Regions from separate parts of the Homo sapiens genome. Here regions 1, 3 and 4 are each linked to region 2. The links are contacts of gene promoters, found by promoter capture Hi-C in blood cells and fetal thymus (Javierre and others, 2016). All regions are on one chromosome and are shown on one strand. The core of a region is centred on a gene start or on the middle of the fragment in contact, and the rest is flanking DNA. Distances in the headings are between cores, read along the strand shown. Region 1 overlaps PATJ (PATJ crumbs cell polarity complex component). Region 2 holds the start of C1orf87 (chromosome 1 open reading frame 87). Region 3 has its middle 210 kb from the start of TM2D1. Region 4 overlaps PATJ (PATJ crumbs cell polarity complex component).

Evidence for each region. Contacts are between HindIII fragments. The CHiCAGO score rates a contact against its expected background, and 5 or more counts as called.
Region 1: a contact is called between a fragment that was not itself captured here and the fragment with the promoter of C1orf87 in region 2, in 1 of 17 cell types (endothelial precursors). The highest score is 5.9, in endothelial precursors.
Region 3: a fragment that was not itself captured here is called in contact with the fragment with the promoter of C1orf87 in region 2 in 1 of 17 cell types (endothelial precursors); the score reaches 6.4 in endothelial precursors.
Region 4: a fragment that was not itself captured here is called in contact with the fragment with the promoter of C1orf87 in region 2 in 4 of 17 cell types (endothelial precursors, M2 macrophages, M0 macrophages and 1 more); the score reaches 7.8 in endothelial precursors.

Annotation. Positions count from the first base shown.
Region 1 is chr1:61,806,453-61,809,849 of GRCh38, forward strand. It overlaps PATJ (PATJ crumbs cell polarity complex component), which reads left to right. Exons shown (of 44, transcript NM_001350145.3): 14 at 2,022-2,078. Among named protein-coding and RNA genes, the nearest start is that of MIR12132, 38 kb to the right of the region's middle. The HindIII fragment of the contact is 1,179 bases long and covers 1,475-2,653 here.
Region 2 is chr1:60,072,271-60,075,287 of GRCh38, forward strand. It overlaps C1orf87 (chromosome 1 open reading frame 87), which reads right to left and starts at 1,500. Exons shown (of 12, transcript NM_152377.3): 1 at 1,420-1,500; 2 at 267-400. The coding sequence starts at 373. The HindIII fragment of the contact is 5,384 bases long and covers 1-3,017 here.
Region 3 is chr1:61,513,091-61,516,469 of GRCh38, forward strand. No RefSeq gene overlaps it. Among named protein-coding and RNA genes, the nearest start is that of TM2D1, 210 kb to the right of the region's middle. The HindIII fragment of the contact is 877 bases long and covers 1,436-2,312 here.
Region 4 is chr1:61,901,477-61,904,636 of GRCh38, forward strand. All of the region lies in intron 24 of PATJ (PATJ crumbs cell polarity complex component), which reads left to right. Among named protein-coding and RNA genes, the nearest start is that of MIR12132, 57 kb to the left of the region's middle. The HindIII fragment of the contact is 771 bases long and covers 1,104-1,874 here.

The DNA.
Region 1 (3,397 bases), core at 814-3,313, 1.7 Mb after region 2:
ACTAAAAATACAAAAAATTAGCCGGGCGTGGTGGCGGTCGCCTGTAATCCCAGCTACTCGGGAGACTGAGGCAGGAGAATGGCGTGAACCTGGGAGGTGGAGCTTGCAGTGAGCGGAGATCATGCCACTGCACTCCAGGCTGGGTGACAGAGCGAGATTCCGCCTCAAAAAAAAAAAAAAAAAGATGAGTCAATACAATTCACACTTTCTCTTGGTAACTTTATGCCTGTGTGTCAGTTCTCATGAGCTGCTGTTTCTTTGCTTCACAGATTTTGAATATGGTTATTAGGCTATCACCTAGCAAATGGCATTTCCTACTTATCTTAGTGGTTTGGTATTCAAATAAATTTGCTGTAACAGTATTTACAAATGGCCAGTTTTATGATGGGCTCTTTTTTTTGTTAAAAACATTTTTTAGGCCGGGTGGAGTAGCTCACACCTGTAATCCCAGCACTCTGGGAGGCCAAGAAGGGTGGATCACTTGAGGTCGGGAGTCTGAGACCAGCCTGGCCAACATGGTGAAACCTTGTATCTACTAAAAATACAGAAATTAGCTGGGTGTGATAGTGGGCACCTGTAATCCCAGCTACTCAGGAGGCTGAGGCAGGAGAATTGCTTAACCTGGGAGGCGGAGGTTGTGGTGAGCTGAGATCGTGCCACTGCACTGCAGCTGGGCAAAAGAGGGAGACTCCACCTCAAAAACAAAACAAAACAAAACAAAAAACAAAAAAACATTTTTTTGAGAGACAGGGTCTTTCTCTGTTGCCCAGGCTGGAATGCAGTGGTACAATCATAGTTCACTGCAGCTTCAACTTTCTGGGCTCAAGTGATCTCCCACCTCAGCCTCCTGACTGGCTGGAACTACAAGCATGAGCCACCACGCTCGCTTAATTTTTCAAATTTTTTTAGAGATGGTGTCTCGCTGTGTTGCCCAGTCTGGTCTCGAACTCCTGGGCTCAAGTGATCCACCCTGCTTGGCCTCCCAGAGTTCTGGGATACAGACATGAGCCACTGCCAGCCTTCTGTTAAAATTTTATTCTCCTTATAATTAAACTTTTAAATTTCATTTATTTATTACATGGTGAGGTCATAACAGACAAATTATAAAGAGGAGACAGAATTTGAAGTTGGAAATTTAAAGTGACAGCTATCCATTAAAAGTTGTAGCATCTTGTACCGAGGAATGGTTGGCAGAAAGAAGCTAGGCATGATGGAGAATGAATGAATGCGTGTACTCCAATATTTCTTATTTTGTTAAAAAACTTTCTTACAGGATCTGCTTATCTGAAATGCAGTACTTTCAGAAGCTGTAGTTGGGTCATTGTTTAACTTATCCCTTCCCGCCAGATGCATCATATTTTATTAACAAGTTACAGATGCAAATCATCAGTAACATACTTTTGCTTGCAAGGAATTCACTTCTGTGGATGTCCACCATTGAAGCTTAGAACAATAGTTTTAGGCCAGGATTAAAAGCTTTAAGTATTCCATGAGCTTTCCACCAAGGACCAGGTCTTTCCGTTTATGTCTTTGCCAGCTATTTCTCCTGGGGAAATGGTTTGAGCTTGTTGTGGAAAGTCAGATGCTTTAGTTTTTCCAAACACATCTGACTTTACTGACCTTGCAAATTTTGTTTTGAGGCTTGGGTTTGAAAGTAAAAATGGCCATATTTTTGATTTTGTCAAAAGAGTAAAATTTTTATGCATCCAGGATAATGGAGGATTATATTAAAATTTTAGGGGTCATGGATTTTTAAAAATAGTATATATATGTGCCCATCACCTTCTGTTCAATTTATGTAATTTAGGAAAAAAGATTGTTGTGGAGAACAACAACAAAAAAATCAAATATACTCTGAAATTTCACATTATGTGTTATAGATTTCAAAAATATAAGAAAGGTATCGGAATGTAGGTCAAATAGAGTTATCAATATATAGGTTTTACAGATATTTTCAGAAAATGTAGGAGGAAATACAGTTATGCTTTTACAAATACTGGAAATTTTTTTTGTAAATTTAGGTTGCTACTTTGGACACACAGATTGCAGATGATGCTGAGTTACAGAAATATTCAAAGGTAAGCATTTTTTATAACAAAGTTAACAGTTTTATTTTTTTTAAGAGATAGGGTCTCACTATGTTGTCCAGGTTGGTCTCAAACTCATAGGCTAAAGTGATCCTCCCGTGTTTCCCTCCCAAAGTGTTAGGATTACAGGTGGAGCCACTGAACTCGGCCCATTTTTTTATCGTTTGAAGAACTTTCTTTAAATTCTTGCTGAAGAAACTAAATTAGTGCTGTGACCTAAAGTTTCCAGAATTTAGTCTTGCATGTTTCCTAGAAATGTGATGGGTCTCACTGTTATGAAAGATGATGCCTGGGAAGAACACAGGATCCCTATGTCATGTTCAGAAGCCAAAACCCAGGTTTGACTCCTTTGCCCACATTAGAGGTAGTATGCAGAGTAACATTGTGCAGTGTGCGTTAGTTTTTTAGATATTATAAGGAGTCCTTTAATGAATGTTTCCTAAAAATCAAGACCCGGGAATACAGGCTTTAAAAAAGGCTTCAGGTTCAGATGTTCAAGGAAAGAAAAGTGGTTTATCTTCTGAGTGTAGGCAGTAGTTGTTCTTGAACTTAAAACGTTTTTGGTAAGCTTTATTTCTGTTGGCAAGGTGCCAGAAGACAACTTCGACAGTTTTTTTTCCAACATTTTTTAGCATCCTGTCACTAAACATTCCCATTCTGGATAAGCAGAGGCCAGGGCAATTGAAACTTAGAGAAGCCTTGTAGGCGGCCTCCTCAACAATTGATAAGAAAGGAAAGATGTTCTTGCCTGAGTGGTTTCAGAAGTCATAGTGTAATTCTGCATGGGATATAAGTGCTGAGCCTACCTTAAACTCTTCTGTCACATGCAGTTTTAAGAATGTATTTTCTTTTTTTTTTTTTTTTTGAGACAGAGTTTCGCCCTTGTTGCCCAGGCTGGAGTGCAGTGGCACAATCTTGGCTCACCGCAACCTCTGCCTCCCGGGTTCAAGCGATTCTCCTGCCTCAGCCTCTCTAGTAGCTAGGATTACAGGCATGCACCACCATGCCCGGCTAATTTTGTATTTTCAGTAGAGACGAGGTTTCTCCCTGTTGGTCACGCTGGTCTCCAACTCCCGACCTCAGGTAATCCACCCACCTTGGCCTCCCAAAGTGCTGGGATTACAGGCATGAGCCACAGCGCCAGGCTAAAAATGTATTTTCTGCATCCCATGAAGGTTTCATAAGAAGTTGAAAAGTCTTTAGATAGTGCTACCATTTTCTTCTTGGTTGAATATTTGTAATCAATATTTATCTTCCATGATTTTATGCTATGTATGCCATAATTTTATAGGTTTCAATTTTCTTTTCTT
Region 2 (3,017 bases), core at 250-2,749:
TTATAAATGTCGCAATGCTCATATTTCCCATCTATTTGGAAAATCAGCCCAAGTAATTAAGGAGTATGGGGAATTATAAAGATGAAAAATATCAGGAAAACAGTGCACATGGAAGTTATCAACACGATTTTACCTCTACTGTTGCATCTTAATGACTTCGTTTTCCATGGATGGCATTTTTTAAGTTTAAATTTCTGGGTGAAAACAAAACAATAAAACTTCATTATCATCCAAGCAACATAGATATTTTTCAAATATGGACTTACATCTTTGGCTTCTCCACGAGGTATTGAAAGTGTTTACTTCCAATGATTTTCACCATGATCTCAGGCATTGCATCTGATCCACGGGGAGTCTTCCAGGCTGAAGACATGATTCCTTTCAAAATCCCTTCAGATCCCTAGGGGTGAAAATAAGTAAATTGTTCCTCTTGATTTTCCATTAGGGAACTGCATCATCCTTGCCAATAACAACAAGCAATAATAATAGCAGGACAAAGTGTTTCACCTATATTACCTCACTTAACACTCCTAACAAAGGCATGAGAAAGATATTTTTAACTACTATTATCATTTTTGTTTTACTGTTGAGGAAACAAGCAAAATGTAGCTATATGACTTACTCACATCACATCACATCACCAGTAATTAGCCGACTTGGGAATCTCACCTAAGAGGTCTGTACAGCAGATCTACTGAATCATTAGGTGACTCTACCTTCCTGTACTACAAGACATAGGATGGAATTCCAGTGAGGTCAGAGCAGAAACAAGGGCATTAGTGGGACATATGAAGAATCCATATTCAGTTCTGATGTTTAGTTTCCCCATTTATGAGATCAGGGTAATTCTAGGTCTGTTCTCAGGGACTTGAGGGTGAATCCAAGGAGATAATGCATCTGAAGGGAGACTGTACACAAGACAGACAGACTTTTGTTGTTATCACTGATCTCTTTCTACAACAATACAATGAATCTGAAATTGAACTCCTGCACAAGGTGTTTAAACAGAGTGATGCCAAGGGAAAATCAGAAGTTCAGTAAATCTGGCCACAGCTGAACACTCCCTTTTAGAACCACCCAGAGGCTGAAAGGCCTTTAGAAATCATTCTACTCCAAAGGCTCCTTCACAGATTGGAAAACTAAGGCCCAGAGAGGGTGTGTTATTTGACAAGGGTCACAGAGGAATGAAGGACGGGACTGTTTCCAGTACTTGGGTCTGATGTCTAGGCCAGGGTTCTTCCCAAAAGTCCAATACTAAAGACCTGTGCTAGGGCAGCCCCTCATCCCGGGGACCTGCAGCCTCTTTGCACCTGTCTGGAATCTTCCAGACCCGGAACTCGTGATCCTCAAATCCCCTCCCTGCCCAGCAGCTGCGTGTCGGCCCTGATTGCCCGGAGAGAACAGAGTCGGGGGGCTTACCGCTAGGGCAGCGTCCCCACCCTGGCAGCTCAGAGGTGCGCGGTCCGTGCTTCTCCCCAGGAAGCTGACACTCTCAGACCCGGGGACGGGACGGGGCGTGGGGACCGAGCCCAGGAATCCGGCCAATCACAGGGCCCGCATCGCGGGCGGCGCCTGTTCCGCCCTGGTCGCTAAGGACGCTGAAGGCTGTTTCTGGGCGGGGACCAGGTTTTTCTCCACTGCCTAGGCAATGGACCCAGGCTCTGGCTGCCAACGGGTGAAGAGCCTAGGTGTTTTTGATCTGTGCCTTCTCTGTTCCTCAGAGATATGCGGGCGTCCTTCTAGAAGCCCATCTCGCTCACCTGTGTGGTCACCCTTGTCCCGCCCTTCCTCCGAAGGCTTCATTTCCCTTTGTGAGTTTGCACATAGTTGAGATTCCAACACAGTAGGTTCAAATCCAGACGTCTCCACTGTATGGCTTGAGTAAATCCCTTCTTTTCCCTGAGATTGTTTCCTCATCTGTGAAACGGGGCAAAATAATAACACTGTCCTAACTGCGATTTGGTGACTAAATTAAATAAGAATATCGGCCGGGCTCAGTGGTTCACCCCTGTAATCCCAGCACTTTGTTAGGCCGAGGTGGGCAGATCACGAGGTCAGGAGATTGAGACCATCCTGGCTAACATGGTGAAACCCCGTCTCTACTAAAAATACAAAAAATTAGCCGGTCGTGGTGGTGCGCGCCTGTAATCCCAGCTACTCAGGAGGCTGAGGCAGGAGAATTGCTTGAACTTGGGAGGTGGACCTTGCAGTGAGCCAGGATGGTACTACTGCACTCCAGCCTGGGCAACAGAGCGAGACTCCATATCAAACAAACAAAGAAACAAAAAAACCAGAATATTATAGATTGATAATAATAACGTTGAGTACTGTCTCTATGCCAGATCCCTATGACAAGCTGGATAACTCTCACCTCACAAGTTAATAGTTATAAACAAAATAGTTTTACTTTATTTTAAAGAGAAAAGAAACAAGTTGGGGTATTGATAAACTACTCCAAATCCTGCAAAAGCAAGTACAGAGCTAAGATTAGAATATAGATCTGCATATCCTACATTTCCAGACAGTTGTTATTATGCTAAAAGAAACTTCAGCTGATGCAGGCAAAGACACTTTAGATTGATTCCCAAACGGTATTGTTATTTGCATCAACATAGGCAGCAGCAGCTCCAGCATCTGTTCCCCTGTCTCCTAACCTCTAGCTGTACTGTGCTTTACAGGTGAATATATCACCCACTGGCACATGCAGCCAGAGGTGGACAGCACACTCAGCTCCCCTCCAGGGGCTCACTCTCTAGAGGGTGAGACACACAGCCACATTCTATGATATAGAAAGTGTTAAGGGAGCAGAGAAGCGGGGACAGCTCCCTTCTCACTCCTCCCTCCTAGCCTTCACGTTGCTTCCAGATCAGTCTTCCCAAGGCCCAACTCTGACAAGCCCCCTCCTCTACTCAAATGTCTGAAAGATCTCATCAGCCACAGCAGGTGTCTGTGGTTTCAAGACCTTCCACTATCTGACTTCAAGCTAGATCTCTAGCTTGATCTCCCACTACTTCTCC
Region 3 (3,379 bases), core at 624-3,123, 1.4 Mb after region 2:
ATCTTTCCAGGAGAGCCAAGGAGCAAAGGAAGGAACAACAGGAAAGGCATCTGAAGCCAGCTTGAGGGCAAGTCAGGGCTTCCCTGAGCTGAAAATGCTCAAGATGAGGGTGAGGAGAAGACAGGCAGGTGCAGAAGGAGAGAGGCCGTGCAGGCAGAGGCCAAAGCTCTCTTGATGGCACCAACACATGAACGGCTTTGGGAACTACAAGCATCTCTTAAATCCATTTCCCATCCCTCACTCCCCAGGAGCAAAGGCTCTCATCATTGTTGTTGTTGTTTTTGCATCTCCTCAATTCCCCACCCCCAGCCCCTGTAGCCACCATTCTACTCTCTACTTTAATGAATTGCACTTTTTTAGATTCCTCATATGAGTGAGATCATGGAGTGTTTGTCTCTCGGCCTGACTTATTTCACTTAGCGTAATATCCTTGATGTTCATCTATGTTGTTGCAAATGACAGAATTTCCTTCTTTTTTGAAGCTGGAGAGTATTCCACTGTATACATAGACCACAATTTCTTTATTCATTTATCTGATGATGGACACTTAGTTTGATTCCATATCTTGGCTATTGTGAATACTGCTGCATAAACACAGAAGTGCAGATACCTCTTCAACATACTGAGTTCATATCCTTTGGATATGTATGCAGTAGTGGGATAGCTGGATCTGTGACAGTTCTAATTTTAATTTTTTGAGAAACCTCCGTGCTGTTTTCTATAATGGCTGTACTGATTTACATTTCCACCAGCACTGTACAGGAGTTCCCTTTTCTCTATGTCCTCGCCAACACTTTTTATCTTTTGCCCTTTTGATAGTAGCCACACTAACAGGTGTAAGTTAATGTCTTATTGTGGTTTTAATTTGTAGTTCTCTAATGATTAGAAATCTTGAGCATTTTTTCTTATACCTGTTGGCCATTTGTATGTCTTCTTTTGAGAAATGTCTATTCAGATCCTTTGGCCATATTTAAATCAGATTATTTGTTTTCTTACTATTGAGTTGAGTTCCTTATATATTTTGAATATTAGCTCCCTATTAGCATGGTACTGGCATAAAAATAGACACATAGGCCAATGCAACAGAATAGAAAGCCAAGAAATAAATCTGCACATTTACGATTACTTGATTTTTGACAAAGGTGCCAAAAACACACAATAGAGAAAGAGCTCTCTTCAATAAATAGTGTGAGACGACTGAATATCCACATGCAGAAAAATGAAATTAGACCTTTATCTCACATCTTATACAAACATCGACTCTACATGGATTAAAGATTTAAATGTAAGACCCAAAACTATAAAACTACTAGAAGAAAACATAAGAGAAAAGCTTCATGCATGACCTTAGTCTGAACAATGATTTTTGGGTATAAGCCAAAAATCACAGACAACAAATGCAAAAATAGACAAACGGTATTACAGCAAACTAAAAAGCTTCTGCACAGACAAGGAACAATCAATAGGGTAAAGAGACAAACTACAGAATGGGAGAAAATATATGCACACCATACAGGCTCTCCTCATTTCTCACCAAGAATACTGCAGTGGCCTTCTTGTTGGTACTGCTGTCTCCTGACCTTCCCTAACCTTTCCCACCACGGCCACCATCTTCACAAATACGTCTTTCACTGAATAATCTCATTCTCACTCTCCTTCTCAAAACTCTTCCAAGGTGCCTCACCATCAGGATAAAATCTCATCATCGATTTAGCATGTGAGACAGTGCCTGATGTGAGCTAATCCTGGTATCCCCCAGGGACCCTCATCCCCAACCTCCACTATCTTGTGCTCTGGTAACACAAAACTAAAATCTGAGTGTCATCTGAGTATTAGGCACAGTGCTGAATGCTTTCACTTTATATATTATGTCATTTAATCCTCATAGCAACCAGATGGGACAGAGCAACTTATCCTCATTTTACAGATGGGTCCAAAAGTTAAGCCAACGTGATCCTAAGACCCATGTTATTTCTAGGGCTGTAGTTTGGATTAAATTTGTTTATGTCCAGATATTTAAACTAATGATTAAGAAACCCTGGAGAAATAAAGCTACATGTTAGTTACATACAAGAAAGATACACATTAAAATAATAATTCACTTACTGAAGTCACATTAAAGACATAGAAATGACACCCAACCCCATACTCTAGCTCATAACCACCTGTCTGACCTAATTTCCTAACAGCCCCTCTCCTGCTCACTGTGATTCAGCCACACAGGCCTCGGCTCTTCTCGGAATGGTCCAAGTCTGCTTCAGTTGCAGGATCTTTGTGTTAGCTATTCTCTATCTGAAAGTGCATGTGCAACAAGCTTTTTCATGGTTCATTTTCTCACATCACTGAGATCTTTGCATAAATTTTACCTCCTCAGAGATAACTTTGCTGACCACATTTCCTAAGACACCACCATCATGTTCTGTTTTTCTCTTTCCTGTTATCCTTATTCATACCCTTACCATGACCTTACAAGATTAGTTATTTATTTGTTATCTGTCTTCCTTACTTCACAGGGTTCCACAATGGTAGGGTCTGTATTTCTAGAACCTAGAACAGTATCTAACATGTAATAAACACACAATTAATATTCATGGAAGAGAAAAATGGCTCCCAAACTCCCGAACATCTTTGACGATGACCTGACTGAGAGTATTAGAGTAGCTAGAATGCATGGGGTCACACAGAAGTGGCTTGGGTAATTAGTGAAGAAGGGGAGAACAGTAGACATGTGGAGAAAAAACAGTAAACATGTGTTGGTGGCATTCATTCAACAATGCACAGTAAAGAGAAAGGCCTGTTAGGGTCACACAAGTCCACGTCCTTTGAGGGGAGTGCCATACATTATGGAGATGAGTTGCATGAAGTAGACACTCAGTAAATGCTTAAAATTATGAGTGAATCTCGGAATTTTATGGTTACCTCAGCCTACCTCCACCTGGTTCTACTCAGGTTCTGAGAGCTAAGGTGGGTCAGTGACTTTGTAAGTTGGAAGGGATTTAATATACAGTTATCCCTCGGTGTCCATGAGGGATTGGTTCCAGGACCCCCGCAATTATCAAAATCTGCAGATATTCAAGTCTCTGGCATAAAATGGTGTCGTATTTGCATCTAACCTACACACAACCTCCTGTGTACTTTAAGTCATCTCTAGATGACTTATAAGTAATAAAGAGCAGGGAACCCAACCCCTAGGCCGCAGACCAGTACCAGTCTGTGGCCTGTTAGGAACTGGGCCACACAGCAGGACATGAGTGGCGGGTGAGCAAGCGTTACCACCTGAGCTCCACCTCCTATCAGATCAGCATGGGCATTAGATTCTCACAGGAGTGTGAACACTATTGTGAACAGTGCGTGTGGGATCTAGGTTGCCTGCTCCTTA
Region 4 (3,160 bases), core at 239-2,738, 1.8 Mb after region 2:
ACTGTTTTTATTGGAAACATACGGTAAGACAGTGAAATAATCATTTAGCTAGAAGACCTTTCTTTATGTGTTGGGGACCGTGTGTGTACAGTTGGTGTGCTCTATTTATATGCCTTAGTTTGTACATTGTATGCACAATTTATGAGTTTCTCAAGTGAGTGTGGGCAGGGGTAAACAAATAAAATGATAAAAACTTCAGCTGATTGCAAAAAAACACTTTAACTAACAAAGGGCTCTATATAGAACAGGGCAGATGGTAGGCATTATGCTTCTCCCACATTCTTTAACAAGCTCTAAATTTTTTTCCTGAAGCCCTAAATTTTATAATTATGTGTCAGGAGGATATTATGCTTGTTTAGAGAAAGAAGTTGACCCTGGAAGGTTGAAGACTCTATTGGGTGAGGGGAGGATCCATGATTCGCACCGGATACGCTCTGTGGGCGCTAAGTTTTAAAGGCACATCAGGCCGAGCACGGTGGCTCATGCCTGTAATACCAGCACTTTGGGAGGCCGAAGCAGGCAGATCACTTGAGGTCAGGAGTTTGAGAGTAGCTTGGCCAATATGGTGAAACCCCATCTACTAAAAATGCAAAAATCAGCCGGGCGTAGTGGCACGTGCCTGTATTCCTAGCTACTCAGGAGGCTGAGACAGGAGAATCGCTGGAACCCTGGAGGTGGGGGTCTCAGTGAGCCAAGATCGGACTTCCCTCCAGCCTGGGTGACAGAACGACACTCTTGTCTCAAAGCAGGAAAAAAAAAAAAAGGCATATTAAACCACTGAGAATGCCCTGAGGTCTGAATGTGATACATTTCTTTGCATTGGGTTAATTGGGTGACACCATGGTGGGTATCTGTAATCCCATAATCTGCTTGTTCTTGATTCATTCTTTATGATGCTAACTGTTAATCATGGTGTTTCAGCTGTGATAGAATACAAAGAGCCCTGGATGTCATGGGTTGGAGTCGGAGTCTGTCCTTTTTATTTTCTATGTGTTTTTGGACAAGTCATTAGACCTACTTATTTTCCGTTTTCAGATAAAATGGAAATGAGAATTCAAAATCGATAGCATTATTGTGAGGATTAAATTAAGGAACTACATAAAAGCTTGTCTGTATATACAAATGTTGAGTTATATTTGTGCTGTGCAATATTTAAAACAATTTTCAAATATACTACTTATGGCAATGAAGAAAATGACCAACAGTCCCTTCCCTTATGGTGTTTACATGATAGTGGGAATGGGGGAATAGACAATAAAATAAGTATATGTAGAATGTCAGATTGCAATAAGTAGCTAGGGAACAAAATAAAGCAGGGGAGGAGGATAAGGAGCGTTGGGGTTGGGGATGGTGAAAGCAATAGTTGCAATTTTAATAACTTTGTTATGGAAGATGATATTGGGACAAATATAGGAAATGAGAGAGTGAGCCATATAGATATATGGAGGAAGAAAAACATGCAAAAGCTCCGAGGTAGGAGCTTGCCTGGATGTGTTCAAGGAGCAGCAGTGAGTCCAGCAATGATAGCATAGCATGAACAAGCCAGAAGGGGTAAGAGAAAAGGGCTGAGGAGTGATGGGAAGCCACATCACGTAGATCCTGAAAGCTCTGGAAGGTCTTCTGCTCTGAACGCAGCGGAGAGTCACTGGAGAATTATGAACAGGTAAGTATTGTTTCAAAGGAGTATTCTGGCTTCAGGGGCAGGGATGGAAGCAGGGGCCTCAGCCAGAAGGCTGTTGCAGTAACTTAGGAGAGAAAGAATGGCGGCCTGGACCAGGAGGAGAGCAGTCAGGTTGTGGTATATTTTGCAGGTGAATAATAGGACTTACTAACAGAATGGATGCAAAAGAATAAAGTGGCAAAGATAATTCAAAAGCTTTTCAGCTTGAGGAATCGAAGATGGAATTTCTGTTTGCTGAGATGGGCAAGACTGTGGGAGGAACAGATTTGGGGAGACATGTTTTAGACATGTTAGGCTAAGATGCCTATTTGACATCCATATAATAATAGTCAGTTAGATAAACAAATAAGGAGTCCCATATTCTTACTAATTTTTTTGGTCTTTTTCCTCAGTTTCAGTTAGAGTTTGTCCCCCACTGTGATTATGGATTTGTTTGCTATTCTTTGTAATTCTGTTGGTTTTGCTGTACATATTTAGTGGATTTGTTGTTGGTGATTTGCTTTTGACATTATGTGGTTTTCTTCTGTATTCCTATTAGTTACTTTTTGCCTTAAATTCTATTTTATTAATATTGGTAACCTTGTTTTATTTTAGTTATTAATTTACATGGTACTTTGCTTTTTTTTTTTTTTTGAGATGGAGTCTCTCTCTGTCACCCAGGCTGGAGTGCAGTGGCGCAATCTCAGCTCACTGCAACCTCCACCTCCCAGGTTCAAGCAATTCTCCTGCCTCAGCCTCCCAAGTAGCTAGGATTACAGGCACCCACCACCACGCCCGGCTAATTTTTGAATTTTTTGGTGGAGACAGGGTTTTGCCATGTTGGTCAGGCTGATCTCGAACTCCTAACCTCAGGTGATCCGCCCACCTCAGCCTCCCAAAGTGCTGGGATTATAGGCATGAGCCATTGCGCCCGGACAGTACTTTGCTTTTTTCATTCCTTCTTTTCCACCATTCTTTTCATTTAGTTTTAGTTGTATTTTTTGTAAGCAACATCCAACTAAATTTTGTTTTTTGAATCTAATCATCTAGAAAATAAGTGAGACGAATTCACTTTTTACTTTGATTGCTGATCTATTGTAACTTAATTTTTTAATGTTTCGTATTATATTTTTTCTTAATGTATTCTGAAATCATCATAAATTTATAGGAAATTACAAAGAAGTGTACAGGGAAGTCCCATGTACCTTTCACTCGGTCACCTCCAATTTTAATATCTTATACAACTATACTATAATAGCAACACCAAGAAATTGACATTGGCTCAATCCGTAGTTTATTCAGATTTCACCAGTTATTCATGCATTGATTTGTGTGTGTGTTTGTAGCTCTATACAGTTTTATCACATGTAAAACCTTGCATATGCACCACCACAATTGAGAAACTCAGCTGTGTCATCACCACCAAACTCCCTTGCATTACCCTTCTGTATTAGTCCATTCTCAACTGCTATGAAGAAATACCTGAGAGTGTATAATTTA